5 separate regions of the Homo sapiens genome follow, and regions 1, 2, 3 and 4 are each linked to region 5. The links are contacts of gene promoters, found by promoter capture Hi-C in blood cells and fetal thymus (Javierre and others, 2016). All regions are on one chromosome and are shown on one strand. The core of a region is centred on a gene start or on the middle of the fragment in contact, and the rest is flanking DNA. Distances in the headings are between cores, read along the strand shown. Region 1 overlaps TTLL5 (tubulin tyrosine ligase like 5). Region 2 overlaps FLVCR2-AS1 (FLVCR2 antisense RNA 1). Region 3 overlaps TTLL5 (tubulin tyrosine ligase like 5). Region 4 overlaps TTLL5 (tubulin tyrosine ligase like 5). Region 5 holds the start of TGFB3 (transforming growth factor beta 3).

What was found. Contacts are between HindIII fragments. The CHiCAGO score rates a contact against its expected background, and 5 or more counts as called.
Region 1: a fragment that was not itself captured here is called in contact with the fragment with the promoter of TGFB3 in region 5 in 14 of 17 cell types (M0 macrophages, endothelial precursors, naive B cells and 11 more); the score reaches 10.3 in M0 macrophages.
Region 2: a contact is called between a fragment that was not itself captured here and the fragment with the promoter of TGFB3 in region 5, in 1 of 17 cell types (erythroblasts). The highest score is 5.8, in erythroblasts.
Region 3: a fragment that was not itself captured here is called in contact with the fragment with the promoter of TGFB3 in region 5 in 13 of 17 cell types (megakaryocytes, M0 macrophages, M1 macrophages and 10 more); the score reaches 10.7 in megakaryocytes.
Region 4: a fragment that was not itself captured here is called in contact with the fragment with the promoter of TGFB3 in region 5 in 1 of 17 cell types (naive CD8 T cells); the score reaches 5.3 in naive CD8 T cells.

Annotation. Positions count from the first base shown.
Region 1 is chr14:75,700,896-75,703,595 of GRCh38, forward strand. The region is part of intron 7 of TTLL5 (tubulin tyrosine ligase like 5); the gene reads left to right. Among named protein-coding and RNA genes, the nearest start is that of TTLL5, 41 kb to the left of the region's middle. The HindIII fragment of the contact is 1,012 bases long and covers 896-1,907 here.
Region 2 is chr14:75,572,295-75,574,994 of GRCh38, forward strand. It overlaps FLVCR2-AS1 (FLVCR2 antisense RNA 1), which reads right to left. Exons shown (of 3, transcript NR_110552.1): 3 at 2,607-2,700. Among named protein-coding and RNA genes, the nearest start is that of FLVCR2, 5.0 kb to the right of the region's middle. The HindIII fragment of the contact is 3,502 bases long and covers 1-2,700 here.
Region 3 is chr14:75,718,064-75,720,763 of GRCh38, forward strand. It overlaps TTLL5 (tubulin tyrosine ligase like 5), which reads left to right. Exons shown (of 32, transcript NM_015072.5): 11 at 1,672-1,763; 12 at 2,533-2,640. Among named protein-coding and RNA genes, the nearest start is that of TTLL5, 58 kb to the left of the region's middle. The HindIII fragment of the contact is 2,411 bases long and covers 246-2,656 here.
Region 4 is chr14:75,664,045-75,666,744 of GRCh38, forward strand. All of the region lies in intron 2 of TTLL5 (tubulin tyrosine ligase like 5), which reads left to right. Among named protein-coding and RNA genes, the nearest start is that of TTLL5, 4.1 kb to the left of the region's middle. The HindIII fragment of the contact is 1,505 bases long and covers 578-2,082 here.
Region 5 is chr14:75,980,745-75,983,444 of GRCh38, forward strand. It overlaps TGFB3 (transforming growth factor beta 3), which reads right to left and starts at 1,251. Exons shown (of 7, transcript NM_003239.5): 1 at 1-1,251. The coding sequence starts at 149. RefSeq lists silencers at 1,556-1,795, 1,926-2,045 and an enhancer at 1,826-1,885. The HindIII fragment of the contact is 14,571 bases long and covers 1-2,700 here.

The DNA of each region.
Region 1 (2,700 bases), core at 152-2,651, 280 kb before region 5:
TTTTTTATTCTTCCTCCTGGATATTTGGCAGGCATTTTCAGTCTGGAAACTGGTGTTTTTCTTTAAGGAAAGTTATCTTCTTATTTGTCTCCGCTTTTAGAACTCTTTTTTGAGGCATTCTAGATCTTTCCTTCATGTTAACTTTTCTCGCATTTTTAATTCTTTTCCCATCTTCTAGATCACAGGTTGAGGTTTATCCATTTATTATTCATTTATCTACTGTATTTTTATATTGGGTATCATAGGTTGATTTCCAGAAACTCATATTCTGATTTGCTTTATTTTTATTTACAAATAACAACCTTTTGTTGCATAATGGATGCAGTTTGCCTGCCTTTCCTTCTGAGGATACCAATGGAAATTTTTGTAAAGTTCTCTTCTGTCCTTTAATTTTATTGGGATTGTCTTTTCCCCTGCTATTGGATTTTCTCAGCTTTGATGATCCTTACATGTTGGACCATATTTATGAACAAAAGACTAGACTGAATGAAACTGGCCGCTGGTCTGGGTTTCTACTGTGGTTGTGTAGGACTCTTTTCCTAATATCTTCTCCCTGGAAGAGGCTGACTGTGAATTTTGTGTAAGGGCAAAACATGTTGACTCTCAGGCTTTACTTTAGGTGGACATGGTGAGAAGCACTCCCCTTCCACCTTGCCAAAATAAAGTGGGCCATATTGTGAATGCAGAGGAGGATTTTGGTGATCTCCCTCTTGGGCAGAGCTACCTTTCTTTTCCTTTTTGTGTGTACTGGTGATAAGGTAGCCTCAAGTTCTACTCTTCTCTATCAGATTTCTGCACCCACACGTCTCCTGGCCTCACTGTTCCAAATGCTGTTTGTTAATTATCTGATTCTAATTCCTTGGCTGATCCCTGAGCTTCATGTTTGTTGAGTACAAGCTTGGAAATTTGCAGGAGCCTCCTTGGGAAGGTCACTCTTATCTCTTTTGGACTTTTCTGGCTTCTTTTACTTTTTCCTAGCTTTGATATCATTTCATTCTTTTGAAAATATTCTTTCTGTCCTTCCACTGGAACTCTGGAAGGGCAGGGGTAGGTAGATGTGTTGTATGTGGGACCAGAACCCTATCTTAAATTCCCCACTTGTCTTTTCACATTGAGCTGTTTGCCATATGTGTAGAAACTAACTTTCTGAGGGATCTTTCACATTGGAAAGTCCTTAAATTCAGTCTGGACTCAAAACAGTACCGTAAACAATGATGGCCAGACCCTTCATGCCAAAGAAATATAGGATCTGGTTTTGATAGAGCAACTGCTACAGCCCCAGGCATTGGCTGCAACTTCTGTTACCTGGCCTAGGCCACTCTGGAGGCCTTTTACCCTGAGTCTCCTGTGACATAAGGCCATGGTCATATGCCTTGGCTCTGTCTCCTCTTGTCTCTGCTCTGACGTTGGTGTTGAAGGCCCCTCTCCAACAGCTTTTCCTTCAGCTCTGTGCCAGGAGCTCCAGTGTTGTTTGAATCTCATAGACGGCACTAGTTTGGGTTTAGGTTTTAGCTGCCAAATGGAATTGCTATTGAAAGTCAGCTATGGTACAAGTTTGCTTTTTATTTTCTTAGATATGAGTCAAAAAGAATAGGATCTATTCCCAGCTCATCTGGGACTTTTTTCTTTTGGAATGCTTTTTTGCCCTAGTGATTTGTTATTTTAAAGCTAGCATCATAAAGGATAGAAAAGTTAAACTTTCCTTGGTGGAGCCGAGAACCCTGCGCCCTAACTCTTCCCTGGATGCCGAATCTCAGTGGGGTGACATGTCTTAGAGAATGTGTTTGGCAGGCTATGTAAGAGTCTTTTTCTCCCTCCCACCTCTCCCTGGGCTGAATCCTTTGAGACCCCCTGCATAGATCAAAGTACTTGGCAGGACCTTTTGCCTTCCCCCTCCCTCTTTGTGAAGCTTTGGAATGAGTCTGATTCTTTTAGGTATTTAGTGGAAGTGCCAGACAGAAGCCTGGGAGGATGCCAGGAGGCATGAGGGGAGCTGGCAACATGCGGACATAATGGGAAAATACTCCTGTTTTACCCCAAAACTGGAATTTTACCACCTTTTACCCAGACCTGCAAACCATGTTGTTAATACTCTTCTCTCTCCTTACACAAAAGGCATAACCATCCCCTCTTTTCCATGCCTGGATCCTTTCCCATGGAATATGTGACCCATTAGCCAACTGGATGAAGTAACTCTTTCCAAGGCTGCTGCCTGCTTTCCTTTTAGATTTAAGCAGGAGGGTGAGGAGAGGGAATGCTGAGGCAGAGGGTCTGGGAGCAGAACTAATGTGAGTGAGTGAGGGATTTAGGCAGTGGGGATGGAGTTGGTGTGAGGGCCAAATGAAAATATCTTCCCCTCTCTTCCCACTGGAGTGAGAGGGCCACTTACTAAAACTTCCCTATAGTAGTCATAACCTTTTGGAAACTCTCTGCAAATAGCAACTTTTACCATTACGAGAACGAGATAAAGGATAGCAAAAGCATCACTTTTATGTAACACTGAAAAGAGAAGTGTGGACCACAGATGGAAACATCTCGGTTGGCTAACGTGGTCTCATAAGGATGTGCTCTTTAGAAATACAGCATAAAGGAACAAAGCTGTGTTTGCTCCACTCCTTCAGTAACCATGACTAAATGCCATATTTTCCCAATTTAGTATATTCAAAGCAAGGAGGGGAAAGAATGGGTGTTTTCTGATTA
Region 2 (2,700 bases), core at 135-2,634, 410 kb before region 5:
TGTTTTGGTGGCCACTGGAGGGTTCAAGGCAGGGAGTGACCTGAAGAGAACTGGAAAATCCTGTGAGGCGACATCCGGCTGAACTGGAAGGAGCGAGAACAACGAGGAGGCAGCCGTGGGTTGGAGGTGAGAAGCCAGGAGAGGCTGCAGCAGGGTGGTGGCAGTGAGAAAGGACAGGAGGGAAGACTGTAAGGAAAGAAGCATCTGTGACACTGAGAGTGAGTGAAGGGGGATCTGGGGAATCCTTAGTCTTCAGGCTTGGCTCACTGGGAGCTAGTGGTGCGCTTTGTCGACAGAGAGAACTCCAGAGAAGTAGACCTTGGCACAGGTCTTTGGATGATGGGACGGAAGTTGAGTTGTAAGTTGTAGGGATAAGAGCCCACAGACTCTATAAGTATGAAAGACGTTAGAAGCAAAAAGAAGGCCAGGGAATGGTCAAACAAGACTAGGATGTGGGGAATAGGTCCTCTGACTACACACACAATTTCTCTGAGGAGACGCCCTAATGGACTTTGGAGGACATAGCTTGGCTGAAGAGGCATCCCTGAGGTTCCAGAGTTGAAGTCTTGGGTGTCCATCATAGCACCAACAGTATAAACTCTAGGACAAGTTGACCACACTTTGAGACATCACCTATGGGCTCCAGTGAAACAGCTGGAGCTCGGTTAAATTTGATTCCATTTTTTAATTTTAGGATTTTTTTTAAGTTCAAAAAAATTAGTTGGCTGGGCACAGTGGCTCACGCCTGTAATCCCAGCACTTTGGGAGGCTGAGGTAGGCAGGCAGATCACGAGGTCAGGAGATCAAGACCATCCTGGCTAATACAGTGAAACCCCGTCTCTACAACGAAATACAAAAAATTAGCCAGGCATGGTAGCGTGCGCCTGTAGTCTCAGCTACTCGGGAGGCTGAGGCAGGAGAATCGCTTGAACCTGGGAGGCAGAGGTTGCAATAAGCCAAGATCGCACCACCGCACTCCAGCCTGGGCGACAGAGCAAGACTCCTTCTCAAAAAAAAGAAAAAAGAAAAAATATTAGTTATACATAGTTCAAACAATAAAATAATCATGTATGAAACATATCAGTTGTGTACCCCCCTTTCCTGCGCTCCAGAGGCAAGTACTTCCAACTCTTCTCAATTCTTTTGGTACTTAACCACCATAGCTGTAAGTGCCACGGGTTTATTAACACTTCCGGACTTTTTCCATGTTAGGCATTTGCATGCCATAGCCTTTTCTATACGGCAGACAAATCGCATGATTGGAGTCTAGATTCCTTCTCCTCCGGGGTCTGCTCAGAGATTCTCCAAGTTTGTCCTTGAAGGGAATGTGCTTCTGCCAAAACCCCAGGGAAGAAAACCAGCTCTCCTTGTTTTTAGTTTTTGGTTTTTGTTTCTGCTTTTGATAGAGACAGGGTCTAGCTATGTTCCCCAGCCTGGTCTCGAACTCCCGAGCTCAAGCAATCCACCATCGTCGGCATCCCAAAGGGCTGGGATTACAGGTGTGAGCCACCGTGCCCGGCCCCATTCTCCTTGTTTAACTGTTTACCCCACCCTCATCTCAACCCTGCACAGGTGCCCGCTTCCCACTCCCCCATCCTGCTAACTGTGTTATATCATAGCTTTAGATACATCAACTCCCAGTGTTCACTTTATTAGGATTGTGTTCATGCTATGCAAATCAAATCACTTAGGGTATATCATGATTATTTTTTCCTTTTCCTCCATAGTTTGTTTATTCCACTGGAGTTAATAATGCTTCCTTTTCCCCATTTACTTAGTTATATTTATGGTACTTATCATTAGTCCAACCCCTAATCTTCCCCCTATTGTGTAAACCTCTCAATATTTTCAAACATGATTCTTTCAGTGTGACTTTCTTGAAGAACTCTTCCTTGGAGTCTTCAAAGCAGCTTCAGCCTGAGTATGCTGCTTTCTTTTTTTTTCTTTTTTCTTTTTTTTGGGGGGACAAAGTCTTGCTCTTGTCCCCCCAGCTGGAGTGCGATGGCACGATCTCGGCTCATTGCAACCTCTGCCTCCTGGGTTCAAGCGATTCTCCTGCCTCAGCCTCCTGAGTAACTGGGATTACAGGTGCCTGCCACCACGCCCGGCTAATTTTTGTATTTTTAGTAGAGATGGGGTTTCACCATGTTGGCCAGGCCGATCTAGAACTCCTGACCTCAGGTGATCCACCCGCCTCAGCCTCCCAAAGTGCTGGGATTACAGGCATGAGCCACCACGACCAGCCGAGTACACTGCTTTTTATGCCTGGTAGATAGCTGTCTACCCAGGAGTTTCCTTTAGCTGGGTGATTCCCATTGTTTGCCTTTTGTGGCGGATTCCCGGTTTCCTCAGCCTTAACCTCTTCCCCTCTCTAGGTTTCCTTCCTTGTTTTGGTGGAGCACATCCTTCAGCAGCTTCCTGAGAGAGAAGATAAGGCAGTATCATTTGTTGTTTCACTCTCTTCTCAAACTGATTTTTTGGTAGTTTGGATATAGCATTCTAGGTAAGAAACGGTTTTTCTTCAGAAGGCATTGTTCCACTGACTTCAAATTTCCAGGCTTGAGGCAACTGTGTTGATATTTTGTATCTGGTTTTTTTTTTTTAACTTTTTCTGATTTTTTAAAATCTCTGAAATCCTGTTGGATCTCCTCTTTGTCTCCAGTTTTGTAAAATTTCATGGTGATATGCAGTACAACTCAA
Region 3 (2,700 bases), core at 201-2,700, 260 kb before region 5:
TAATGTCCATGTACCATTTATGGAAATCTGTCAGTCATATAACAGTGTTGAGGCATATCTCCTGCTGCTTCTCCATTGCCTCCCCGGTTAACGGTGTCACCTTTCTCTACCAAAATGTGCCTTCACAAGTTTTTCTTCCTCACTGCCTTCCCTCACTTGACTTAGGAATGGGAATTTAATAGGCATATGGAACGTTTTAGAAGTTAAGAAATGAGGTCATTTCAGCACTTGGCAAACATATCAAAAGCTTAAAAAATGTCTGTACCCTTTGACCCCATGGTTCCATTTCTAGGAACTTAACCTTAAGGAATAAAAGATGTACACACAGGATCAGTGATAAGAATGTTCATTACCATGTATTCGTAGGTGGAAAAAGCAGGTTATCAGATAGCACATGCAACTTAACTTTCTTGCTTGAATATGAGATATCTAAAGCTGCTTATTTTTGCTGAGGGGGGAGGAAAAAAAGACCAGAAGTAGTACCGAAGTGTTAATTTAGCTTAACTATAGTGGGTAGGATTGTGAGTGGGTGATTTTTATTTTCTTCTTTGTGCCATTATGTATTTTCTAAATTTTTCTAAAATAAATACTTGTATGATCAAGAAAAAGAAAAGGAAAAAATCAAAGAAAGAAAGAAATGAGGCCATCTCAGAAAAGGATTCAGTGGAAGGGAGTACTAGCCCAGCTGTGTGGAAATATTCTTTTTGCTCTGTTTTCTTTCATGCCGATATTTTTGCCAGAAAGTGGAAAAGTGGAAAAGAGACCCAAATAGTTACTTTCTACTCAGACTAAAAATAGGTTCCTAGCAGGTCCAAGGAAAGAAAGAAAGGAATCTGGAAGTGATAGAATAGTTGCTGAAGCTATATAGGTTTCAGCAAATATCCTGTGAGCAGCATTTGCATTGACTGAAGAGATCATACCTCCACTGTGAAAGATGAGCAAAGGCACAATTGGTGGAGAGTGGGATGGTGGTAGGGAGTGAGGGGACAGCTGCAAAACACAGGTTCCAGATTGCGGGGCTCTTCCAACATTCGTGGGAGGCTGTGCCATTGGCCACTCCGCTGCCATAGCAATAGTATACCTCCTCACTCTTACTGTCACTCCAGTGCACTCTCCCTTCAGTGTTACCTCAAAAAAATCAGGAAAAGCCATATCTACTGCCAAAGAGGAGGGAACCTGCTTCAGATGCCAAAGCAATTCTGTGTGGGGTTATTTCATTAGCATGCTGCACCAGAATAACTCACTCACCCATTCCAACTCAGTTCTGGTCTGAAAATGGCATCAGAGGTTGTTTTGTGGACTCAGGTGACATTCACCTCAAAGGTTAATTGTCTTTTAACTTGTTGTAACCATTCTTAAATTTGTTTGCCTTCTTTCACACATTGCTTTCACTCTTTCTTGATGCATAATTGTTTGGTTAAGAAAGAATTTGCCGCCTTCTTCCCCACCCTCTTGAAAAAGGCAAACTGTATGCATTTTCATTTCCATTGAAGAAATTGGTATGAAAGGATATATGACAAAAAGGACCAAGAAAAAATGAGTAACTGGAAGTCAGCAAAGTGAATTAAAAAAAAAACTTTTTAAAAAGACAAGAAGGCTATTTGCAAAGAGTCTTGTTATTATAGCCAAGCCTAGTTACATATGTGACTTTGATTTATTAATTTGTTTTAGTTGTGACGATCCAGAAGTGGAGGATTATGGAAACAAATGGAGCATGAGTGCTATGCTTAGGTACCTGAAACAAGAAGGCAGAGATACAACCGGTGAGTACTGGGCCTTTTTCCTTCTTGACTTCTCTTCTTTGGATAACTTTATCATTGTCTCTTGCCAGGAATCATTCTCTGTTGCTTTGATAGTGTTGCTGAGACGGGATGATTGTCCTTGGTGTTACTTTTTCCTGCAGTTGACAAGCTGGGGAACAGGTTTTCCATTACCCTCAAAATCCCTTTTCTTGTTTCGGGTCTGAAAGACATAACTTTTTCCTTTTAATCCTTAGTGAATTTACCCTTCTTGAATGTTGAACTGCTGACTAAAATATGGTCAGCTTTTTATATAACAAATTGCCTGTCTCCATATTGGCCCCAAGTTTCGAGTTTTCTAAGTTAATCTCTCTCATTCATGTTGCTGAGTTGGAGAATGGGCACTGTTTGAGCACAGGGCTTCAAATCAAAATGGACACAATTGCTGAGCCTTGAGCAGAACGGGAAACTGTGTGCCAAAAAAGACTTTTCATTTCACAAGGGAAAGGGTCATAGGGGAAGTGTGAGAAGGGAAGTGAGGCTCCTATTCCATTATGTGTCTGTCTTTTGTCATAAGAGGCCACCTGAGGGTATCCCTTGGCACCTACATTCTTGACTGTATTGATCTGTTCACAGATATGCCTGCCTCTATAGCACCCATTCAGAAGTCTGCCATATAGAGGCTTTTTTGAATGAGCACACATGCTTTTATAGTTATATTGTTATCTGGAATCCAGTTCATAATCCATGTATTTTGATATTGAGTCTGAAATTTAAAAATTTTTGTTTGCAGCATTGATGGCCCATGTAGAAGACCTGATCATTAAGACTATAATCTCTGCTGAACTAGCTATTGCTACTGCCTGTAAAACCTTTGTTCCTCATCGCAGCAGTTGTTTTGGTAAGGAGACTCAAGAAGCTTAACATGTTTTGTGAAGAGGATCTTGGGAAGTTGGACGGG
Region 4 (2,700 bases), core at 80-2,579, 320 kb before region 5:
TTGCACTCCAGCCCGGGCAACAAGAGCAAACCTCCATCTCAAAAAAAAAAAAAAGAATGATAATGATAAATATAGCTACTACAGATGACGATAAAGGCTTTATCTCATCTATATCTTATATCTTTTTAAATCTGAAGGTGTTATTATTTTCACTTTTTTAAACTCAGTCTTATCAGGAAATTTCCTCAGTGACCCATAGAGAGTAAGTGATGCATTGAGATTTGGACTTAGCTTTTCTGGATTTTGATCACTTTGCTCTTTTGCCTCCTTTAATTATTGCTTGACACAGAGTAAAGAGAGAATCTGGTTTAAAGGTAAAATTCATTTTTAAGATTCTCCCTGAGTCCTTTTGGATATGTGTGTGCTATGTAACCTGAAAAATAGAGATAATATCTCCCAGGCTATTTTGTAGGGGTCTGGTTAGACTCAAATAGCATAATGTATGTGAAATTACTTTGTAAGTGCTATACAAATGTAAGGCATTATTTTTACTGGTTTTAATATTGAATTTATGGTGGGCTTCTTGTAAGATACAAGATTACTTGTAATTTGAAAAAAATTGTTGAAGCATTAAGAAAGCTTTGAGGAAACGTTTCTTATCACTGTTAGGTCATAGAAACTAATAGAGATTTGAAAGTATATTTGGGTCATTCTTGTTCAGGATAATTAAATGGATAATTCCCTCTGGTTACTTTCCCTTCTTCTGACTTTTTGCTTTCGGTGTGCTGCCTCTTACCCATTTCATAAAACTTTTAACTTCTGCTGCAAGTATCAGTCTTTCCCTTTTTAAAGGTTGTTCTTTTACTCCATTACTGTCTCTCTTATTAGTGGGTTTACAGATTGGGCCTGACAAATGTTAGATTGAACTATATGAAACTGCCATTTTGGTAGGTCAGAAACAGTCAAATACTGACGATTGCAGATAGTTTGACCTAATATTATAGTAGGTACTTAGTAAATTCTTGCTGACTGAATAACGAAATGAAGGAATAAATGAAGGCTTTATACTTTACATTACCTTAGATCAGAGTTGTTAACTTTTTTATGCCATGGATTCCTTACCAGAATAATGTTTTTAAGGCTTAAAATAAAATACATATTATTACAAAGAGTACTAATTACATTCAAATGCAGTTATTAAAACACATTTGTAACATAGTAATATGTGCTGTTTTACTAATACATTAAATAATAAGATCATTTCAAATCTGGGAAAGTTAAATTTTGTTTTCTAAAGACAACAACATGAAGACTGTTTTTGTTTAGTTTGTGTAAGATCAGTACACTGGGAGGGTGGCCTTTGATTAACAATCATAGGTCGGGGGTACTGGGAAGCAGCATAGATGTCTGGGTCACCAGTGTGAGGTGTCATCATTTAGTGACTGAATGATTATTAGGAGGAGAGTTGCCCAATTGTTGTCCAACCTCATCACACTAGCATTTAGATAGAAAGACCATGATCACATGTGATCTAGGGGTGAGTCTTAAACTACTATAACTTAGAAGTAGTGACAAATGTAATACCTGTAATTGGCCAGGTGCAGTGGCTCACGCCTGTAATCCCAGCACTTTGGGAGGCCGAGGTGGGCAGATCACTTGCAGTCAGGAGTTTGAGACCAGCCTGGCCAATATGGTGAAACCCTGTCTCTACTAAAATACAAAAATTAGCCGGGTGTGGTTGTGGGTAATCCCAGCTACTCGGGAGGCTGAGGCAGGTGAATCGCTTGAACCTGGAAGGCAGAGGTTGCAGTGAGCCGAGATTGTGCCACTGTGCTCCAGCCTGGGAGACAGAGTGAGACTCCGTCTCAAACAAAACAAAACAAAAAAACTGCTGTAATTTTAGATAACGTCAAAGGCACAGATAATGCTAATATTACTATGGTTCGTTGCCTATATTCATAATTAAGAAATACTGAATTTCTAGTAAAAGTTAGTGAAAATAAAGGTGTAATTTTCCCTCTGCTCCCATCCAAATTTATGGACCACTTCCTCCTTTTAGACTCCTACTGTTGATTTTTAACTGTTAATCTTGTTTCATCAGCTTATGTCTTGTCTATCAGACACTTATTTTTTACATTAGGAAGCTTAAATCAATCTTGTTCACACCTGAAGCAGCAGGCTTACATTTTAAAAGTTGATTTAGAAGTTTGAAGGCCATAAATCATCGGAAGATGTTGACTTGATCCAAAGATGTATATCCATGGACATCTGTTAGATCTGCTCAGATCCCTAGGCTGTGTTAAAGTATTAATTCCTTGCAATCGTGGACTTCAGGAATAGAAACTATCCAGGCAGTCTTGTTTTGCATGGTATTATTTCAAATAGAAAATGTAAAGAGGCTGTTTTTCTATATTTTGCTTGGGGATCCCAAATACAACTCTGTATGTAGATATAGAAGCTTTCGTAGAAGAACGTGATGTAAGATTTCTTTGGTCACTGAAAAAATGTCAACTTTAATTGCTATTGTAAAAGGCTGGCTTTATATCAGTTAAAAAGATTATTAACAATCAATTATAAAGTGGGTGCTATAGGAGTTCAGAGAAGGAAGTATCGTAATGGGCTGAAGGAGCTGGGGAAGGCTGCCTGAAGGTGGTGAGACTTTAGGTAGGCCTTGGAGAGTGGGCTTAGATAAACAGAAGTGGGGAAGGCATTTCTAATAGGGGTAGTGGTATGAAGACAGCCTAGAAGCAAGAATGCAAA
Region 5 (2,700 bases), core at 1-2,500:
TTGCTCAAGATCTGTCCCCTAATGGCTTCCACCCTCTTCTTCTTGATGTGGCCGAAGTCCAAGGTGGTGCAAGTGGACAGAGAGAGGCTGACCGTGGCAAAGTTCAGCAGGGCCAGGACCACCAGAGCCCTTTGCAAGTGCATCTTCATGTGTGAGCTGGGAAGAGAGGCCAGGGGGACGGCAAGGCCTGGAGAGGAAGAGACCCCAGCAGACGTGCAGAAGGAGGGAGGAAAACCAGGCGGCCTCCCCAGATCCCAAAGACTGAGGCTTGGCAAGAAGGTGCATGAACTCACTGCACTGCGAGAGCTTCAGGACTTCCAGGAAGCGCTGGCAACCCTGAGGACGAAGAAGCGGACTGTGTGCCTTGTAGCGCTGGGATTCTTGTCCATGTGTCTAAACAGGTTTTGCTGGGCTCTGACTCCCAGCAGGCCAGGTGGAGGGCAAGCAGAGGGCTGGGAGGGGTGGCAAGGCAGCTGGGAGTGGGAAGGGAGCTGGAGTTTTTCCTTAGGTAAAAATAAATAGAGTGGATATCTGATATTGCCAAACGCCGCTTGGCGATGGGGAGAAAGTGGGTATTTTAAAGAAGAAGCAGAAGGACCATGGCTGGGTCCCAAAATCAAAATCCTTGCCTTGCCTTGAAAGAAAATAAGAAAAGAGAATGGAAAAGAAAAGGGAAAAAAAAGTAAAAAAAAAAAGATCACCAGTGAGTAGGTGGGGAGAAGCAGGGCCGGGCAGTTGCTGGCCCAGCTAAAGGTGGGGGCAGTACAGGACACACTTGTCTCTCAGGCACTCCATTCATGCTTTCTCTTTTGTTTACACTTCCTCGGGGGCTTTCTAAATGACTTTGTTCACGCTGCCTCTCGTCTTCATTGGCTGGGGTGTGGGGTTATATGCATTGGAAGGCAGGGAGGCAGGCCTCTGAGCGCAGCAGCCCCAATCATCCACTCAGACGCCCAGGGTCACCAGCACCTCGGCTTGTCTTCTGCCTCGGCCATTGCTTCTGTCCCCTGCTTCTCTTTAAAAAATAAAAAGGAGAAAAAAATAAAATAAAATAGAAGCCAGTTCACGGCACGCCTGCTCCGGAAAGCTGTTATTCCTTCTCTCGCACGCCTCTTCCCCTGTCTCTGCCTCTCTCGCTCATTCCCTTGGACTTGACTCTCTGCTTCCCTCCCTTTCTCTCTCTCCCTCTCCCTCTCCCTCTCGCTCCTCTCCCTCTCTCTCTCACACACACACACATGCACACACACTGCTTTCTCTATTTCTCTCTGCTGAAATTTTATACCTCCCTCCCATGACGTCTCTGGCCTGGGGTGGGGGAGGGAGGGACCAGCGCACGCAGCCTCTTTTGCTGCACGATGTTAATGTTTTAAACAGGCACAGGAAAAGCCGAGCCCTTTTGAAAAATACTTTGCGAGTCCTCTCGTTCGACGTGGTAGCTGAACTTTTTTTCCCCTCTTGGAATCACTCCTGCCACACGTTGGCTGTTTTTCTGGAAAGTTACTCCGATGAGCCCCCTCCCTCCCTTTCCCCCAGCCCCGGCGCCCTCTCGCCAGCTGTCAGTCCGCGCCGTCCGCGGCCCGCGTCTACTCTCCCTCCTGGTCCCCCGGTCCCGGGGCCGCCCGCGGGCCAGGCCCAACCCGGGGCAGGGTCCGCAGAGGGCGCGGGACCCGGTAGGGGCGGCCATGCCAGCCTCGCAGAGGGGACTCCCAGCCTGCGAGCCGGGTCGGAGGGTCGGCGTCCGCTCCGCGGCGATCCTGGCCCGATTCTTCATTGACAAGATCGGAGTCGGGAGGCGGGCAGAAGCCTGGAGACGCTCCAGGGGCAGTGAAAAATGGTGGCGTTTTCCGGAAGATCGAGGGTGCCCTCTGGCGAGGCGAGGCCGCCAGTGAAGGAGCTCGGCTGGTCGGGAGCCGGGGAGGCTCGGGGGCTGGGGGCTGCGGGGTGGGGGCTGAGGGGCGGGAGAAGGGGCTGCGGTAGAGAGCGAGAAAAACAAGACCCAGGCCCCGAGGAATCGCCTCCCTCCCGGCCCGACGTGCGCACGAGCGCACCTCTCCCTCCCCGACCGCCGCTCCGGAGCCGCTCTCGCAGAAATGTCATCCAGATGTTCAGCCTCCCTCCCCGCCGAGGTCTCCGCAGGGAGCTGCGCCAGCGAGCGCGAAGTCAGCAGTTGGCCCGAGCCCATTTCCCAGATGGGTGAGGGGAAGTCGGCTCTGTGCTTTCGCTCCTCTTCTCGGCCCGAACCTCTAGGCCTTTTCCCACGAGCAGCCAAGGGAGGGTAGGGCACGTGGCTCCCCGCACCCCGCAACACAGGGCTTGCCTCTGAACTGAACTTTCCTGAGAGTGAGTGCCGCTCCCACCCCATCTCACTCCAGCCTTCCTGGACCCTTTCTGAGAGGTCTGGCTTCCAGGCCACTAACTGAAGGGGCTGTTCTCTGTATCCCAGCACAGCGGTGGGTCACTTTACGGATGAGGAAACTGAGGCATAGAGTTTTTTGTTTTTTTTTTTACAGACCACACTGCTTGTGAGTGATGGAGGCGATATTTTACACAGGCTATCTAGCTTGGGTAGGCATTACTTTCATTTGCAAAACCAATGGGAAACCTAGGGGTAGAAACTTTAAAAGTAACTTGCCCAAGGTCACATAGTTATTAGGTGTCAGCTGTTGGGATTTGGACCCAGGACGTTGCCAGATTCTGGAC